2 separate regions of the Homo sapiens genome follow, and region 1 is linked to region 2. The links are contacts of gene promoters, found by promoter capture Hi-C in human tissues and cell types (Jung and others, 2019). All regions are on one chromosome and are shown on one strand. Each heading gives the region's core, a stretch centred on a gene start or on the middle of the fragment in contact. The rest is flanking DNA. Distances are from core to core; before and after follow the strand shown. Region 1 has its middle 17 kb from the start of LINC02455. Region 2 holds the start of KDM5A (lysine demethylase 5A).

What was found. Contacts are between HindIII fragments. The study calls those that stand out against the background at their distance.
Region 1: a fragment that was not itself captured here is called in contact with the fragment with the promoter of KDM5A in region 2 in 1 of the 25 tissues and cell types used here (dorsolateral prefrontal cortex).

The regions. Positions count from the first base shown.
Region 1 is chr12:732,191-734,890 of GRCh38, forward strand. No RefSeq gene overlaps it. Among named protein-coding and RNA genes, the nearest start is that of LINC02455, 17 kb to the left of the region's middle. The HindIII fragment of the contact is 3,427 bases long and covers 1-2,700 here.
Region 2 is chr12:388,070-391,039 of GRCh38, forward strand. It overlaps KDM5A (lysine demethylase 5A), which reads right to left and starts at 1,251. Exons shown (of 28, transcript NM_001042603.3): 1 at 858-1,251. The coding sequence starts at 1,022. LOC105369594 (a long non-coding RNA gene) reads right to left here. Exons shown (of 4, transcript XR_007063149.1): 4 at 1,964-2,872. It also overlaps a transcript of CCDC77 not described here. RefSeq lists an enhancer at 1,414-1,708. The HindIII fragment of the contact is 14,723 bases long and covers 1-2,970 here.

The sequences.
Region 1 (2,700 bases), core at 136-2,635, 340 kb after region 2:
CCCTAACAGGGTACATTCACTATGAATAATATTAAATAAAAATTACTGAGTGTACCCATAATGAGGAATGTAATTAATCAATCAAACTGACCTGGAACCTATGCAGATATTAGAATTAGCAGTCAAGAACATTAAAATAGTTATTATAACTCTATTCTATATGTTCAAAGAGCTAGGTTGGGCGTGGTGGCTCATGCCTGTAATCCCAGCACTTTGGGAGGCTGAGGCGGGTGGATCACCTGAGGTCGGGAGTTTGAGACCAGCCTGACCAACATGGAGAAACCCTGTCTCTACTAAAAATACAAAATTAGCCAGGCATGGTGGCGCATGCCTGTAATCCCAGCTACTTGGGAGGCTGAGGCAGAAGAATCGCTTGAATCCAGGAAGCAGAGGTTGCAGTGAGCCGAGATCACGCCATTGCACTCCAGCCTGGGCAACAAGAGTGAAACTCCGTCTCAAAAAAAATAAATAAATAAAGCTAGAGGAAAGATTAAATATATTAAGTAGAGACATGGAAGATATTAAAAGAACCAAATTTAACTTTTAGAAATGAAAACTACGGGGGGAGGGGGTAGGGATAGCATTAGGAGATATACCTAATGTAGATGACAAGTTAATGGGTGCAGCACGCCAACATGGCACACGTATACATATGCAACAAACCTGCACGTTGTGCACATGTACCCTAAAACTTAAAGTATAATAAAATATATATATATATAAATTAAAAAAATAAAAAAAAGAAATGAGAACTACAATGTCTGAGATGACGACTCTACTGGATGGGATAAATGACAGATTATCCATAATGTTTTAAAATTTATCCATGTTTTAGTATGTATCAGTACTTCATTCTTTTTTATGCCTGAAAAATATTCGATTGTATGGATACGCCACATTTTGTTTATCTATAATTGATGGACATTTGGGTTGGCTATTATGACTAATACTACTATGAACATTCATGTACAAGTTATTGTGTGGATATATGTTTTTATTTTTTGTGAGTATGTACCTTGGAGTGGAATTACTGGAACAAGCTAGAATTGTCAAATCGTATGGCAACTTTGTGTTGAACCTTTTTGTTGTTTGAGACAGGGTCTTGTTCTATTGTGCAGGCTGGAGTACAGCGGTGCAATGATGGCTCACTGAAGCTTTGACCTCCTGGGCTCAAGCCATCTTCCCACCCCAGCCTCCAAGTAGCTGGGACTACAGGTGTGCGGCACCACAACTGGCTAATTTTTAATTTTTGTTTTTTAGATATGGGGTCTCAGTAGGATGGTCTTGAACTCCTGGGCTCAAGGGATCTTCCTGCCACAGCCTCCCAAAGTGCTGAGATTACAGGCATAAGTAACTGCCCCCAACTTGTGTTGAAGCTTTTGAGGAAGTGCCAGACTGTTTTCCAAGTCAGTGGAACATATATCACCTTATATTCCCACCAACAGTAAATAAGGATTTCAATTTCTCCACATCCTCACCAATACTTATTACTATCTTTTTTTTTTTTTTTTTTTGAGATGAAATCTTGCTCTGTTGCCTAGGCTGGAGGGCAATGGCGCAATCTCGGCTCACTGCAACCTCCGCCTACCAGTTCAAGTGATTCTCCTGCCTCAGTCTCCCAAGTAGCTCCCACCACGCTTGGCTAATTTTTGTATTTTCAGTAGAGACGGGGTTTCACCATGTTGACCAGGCTGGTCTCAAACTCCTGACCTCAGGTGATCCATCCACCTCAGCCTCCCAAAGTGCTGGGATTACAGGCATGAGCCACTGTGCCTGGCCTATCTTTCTTTTTGATTATAGTCATCCTAGTTGATGTGATCAGTACATCATTATGGTTTTGACTATCATCAATCCAGTAGCATCTTTTCATGTGTTAATTGAACATTTGTGTGTATATATGTGTATATATATATAGTGTGTGTGTGCGTGTGTGTGTGTGTGTGTATAGGTTTTTTTAGAGACAGAGTCTCACTCTGTCACCCAGGTTGAAGTGCAGTGGCGCAATCAACCTTGAACTCCTGGGCTCAAGCAATCCTCCCACCTCAGCCTCTCGAGTAGCAGCCTAATAGTGACAAAGATTTACTCCTGTTTTCTTCTAAGTATTTTATAGTTGGACCTCTTACAATTAGGTCTATAGACCATTCCGAGTTAACTTTTGTGTATGGTGTGAGGTAGGTGTTCAGTTTCATTCTTTTGCCTGTGGCTATCTAATTGTCTCAGCACCATTTGTTGAAAAGACTATTCTTTCTCCCATTTAATTGGATTCTTTCTTGTCACCCTTCTTGAAATTTATTTTTTTTGAGATGGAGTCTCGCGCTGTTGCCCAGGCTGGAGTGCAGTGGTGCGATCTCAGCTCACTGCAAGCTACGCCTCCTGGGTTCACACCAGTCTCCTGCCTCAGCCTCCAGAGTAGCTGGGACTACAGACGCCTGCCACCATGCCCGGCTAATTTTTTTGTGTTTTTAGTAGAGACGGGGTTTCACTGTGTTAGCCAGGATGGTCTCGATCTCCTGACCTCGTGATCCGTCTGCCTTGGCCTCCCAAAGTGCTGGGATTACAGGCATAAGCCACCACGCCCGGCCAAGCTTCTTGAAAATTAATTTGTCATAAATGTGAGGAATTATTTCTGAATGCTCAATTCTATTTCATTGATCTCTACATTTATTCTATCCTAATGCCACACTGTCTTGATTACTGTAG
Region 2 (2,970 bases), core at 1-2,500:
TTTAAACAAGCATCCAGTTGACCCTGGTGCAAGTGGTCCAGCAACATCATTTAAAAAGCACTGGTCTAATGAGTAAAGAAAAACACCTTTGACCTTGAGTAATCACTCAACCTCTTGGGGCATTAATCCCCTCCACACAAGGGATAGTATCTGTTTTCCTTACCTCAAAGGTGAGATTATAATTAACCTTATAGGCAAACCTAGTTATCTGCAATAACTGTGATTCTAAAATCGTTGATCTTGAGTTCCCTACGTCAAGAGATTTCAACATTTCCTTCCACCTCCACTATAAACCAATTTTTCCTAAACCTCTAAATTTTAGAATTATTGCTGCTCCTTCTCTTTCCCCGCTAAGACTTTTTCACTGCGGCAATAATTAGTCTGGAGTTCTTGTCTAGTAATACCATCCGGTGAGACTAGAGCTCAGATAACCTTTTCAGAAACCCTAGCCCTGAGATGAGGCCTGCAAATATTTGATCCAACCAGGTCTTGAATAAAGAGATAGCCGACTATCAAACCATAATGAGGATACGTGAGGGAAGAATACGTCACGTCATAATACTGTACTTTAAACACCATATCGGCTAACGAAAGGCTTTAGGCCCACGGCTGAGAGAAAAGTATCAGTTCCCAAGTTCTAGGCGGAAGAGGCCCAAGAGACACCACTTTCTCGCTTTCAGACGTGTCTACATAAGACCACAAAAGAAACCGAGGCAAAAACATCCAGAAACAGGCTCCAGTTGTCTCAAAAGAGAGTACATATGAAACGAGACAAGGATCAGAAAAGTAAAGCTAAACCCAGTGTACGGACTCCCCCATTCTTCCTTCTCCCCCTCTCTCTTCACAGACTGAGGTACCTTGGGCGGCCGAATTTTGCAGATGCCGGTTTTCTCCGCCAAAGGCCGGATGCGGCCGATAAAGCTGAGCGGATCTGTGAACTCCTCCCAACTCGGCTCAAAGACGGGGCACTCTGGCGGTGGCACGAACTCCGCCGCGTAGCCCCCCGGCCCCACGCCCGCCATTGCAACGGCCGGGGGGGGGGGGGGGTCCCCGTGGGGAACCGGTGGAGAAAAGCTGGCTGAAGCCCACTAAGCCCGTTCAAGTCCCCTGACAGAGGCCGAAGCGCATCTTCGCGGACAAGAACCGTTCAACACAGAAACCCCAGAATCGCTTCCTCCTCCCGTTTGTTATTGTTTCTTGCAAGGCTTTTCCACTGAGGTTCAGGACTTTTCCGGAAGTTACCGTGCTGTCAAATCCCTCCGCCCCCTGCAGGAAACGGAATCCTTCCGCAGCTGCACGACGCCTGTGTGTCTGGCCTTTCCTTCTTCTTCTCTTCCCCGGCAGCACAGTGTGGCTGTTTGTCTCCTTGCCCGCCAAAGTTCTGCCCAGTCCAACGACTCCACGCAGCTCGCCCTTGGTAAGGGGTCGGGGAGGGGCACAAGCTCTTCTTTACTAGAGGTACGGATTGAGGGAAGCCGACGGGGCGAGGCGGGGCGAGGCGCAACGAGGCGGGGCGAGGCGCGACGCGACGTGACGCTTTCTTCCGGCGCGGAGGAATGTGTAATGCCCCAGAGGGCAGAGGTTGTGCTTCCGGTGAGGAGGGTCCCTTTCCCTTTTGTGTATCAGTGCACTCGAAAACACGCCGGGCTTAATCTTAAGCACCGCGCCTCACCGCCCGTGCTTCGTAATTTGTTTTAACCTACCCTGCTGCGTTTATAGCAAGTAGCCTTTCCAGCATTTCTCTTTTTTTAGCCCTTTGAATGCAGATATTTTACAGTAATCTCACTCTGCCACTTTATACCCGCCTCTTCTCCATCAAAACAAGTGCAGGTCTAACCCATCCCCTAAATCCTGCCAGCTGGCTTTAGCCACCATCCATGAATTGCTTTTCCTTTTACACAGGACGCAGCAGCTCTCCTGAATTACCAGCCAGTATCGTCTAGCTACCTGCAGGACATCTCACTTTGATAACTCAAAGTACTTTAATTGTTCACTGTTTCTTCAGTGTTCCTGGTTTCCATTAATGACTTCATCTATTCAGTTGCCTGAGCAAAAAAAAAAAAAAAAAAAAAAAATCAAGAAATAATCCTAATTCTTTCTGCTCTCACTTCCCATGTATAATCGTGTGTCTCTCCATCCCCGTTACCAGTATCCTAATTTAAATACTCTTACTGACAACAGCTGATTTCTCCTCTCAAATCCCTCTCCATCCACACGTTGGATTGCTTTGTCTAAAATCCAGAATTCATCTTGTCACTTTTCATCTCCAAACTCAACAACTCCAAACATCTTTTTTAATTGCTGATTTGCTGCTTTGCTCTCCAGCTTCATCTCTCCTGCTTCTCCATATGATCTACAGAAGTTTTTGTGGTGACTTTAGTACACCATGATTTTTCTCACCTCTGAGTAACAAATCAGGGGACTTTGAATAACGCAGATTGCCCTCCATAATGTGAGTAGGCCTTATCCAATCAACTGAAGGCCTGAATAGAACAAAAGACTGACCTTCCATGAGCAAGAAGGAATTTTGCCAGTAGATGGCTCTCAGACTTGAACTGTAGCATCACCTTTTCCCTGGCCTCCAGCCTGCCAACCCACCCTGCAGATTTTGGACTTGGAAGCTCTATAATCAAGTGAGTCAAGTCCTTAAAATAAATATCTTTATAAACACACACACACACACACACACACATCTTATTGGTTCTGTTTCTCTGGAGAACCGTGAATACATCTAGGGTTGGAGGGTTCAAGATGGCCTCACTTACGTGTCTGGCAGTTGGTGCTGGCTATTGGCTGGGAAGTCTTAGTTCTCCACATGGCTTCTCATCTTCTGGTAGATGGAGCTTTTCCACTGCATGGTGGTCTTAGCATTCTAAGAAGATGAGAGTGGAAGCAAAGACCTAAAGCCTAGACTCCAAAATGTACAAGATCACTCCATCATATTCTGTTGGTCAAAGCAAGTCATAAGAC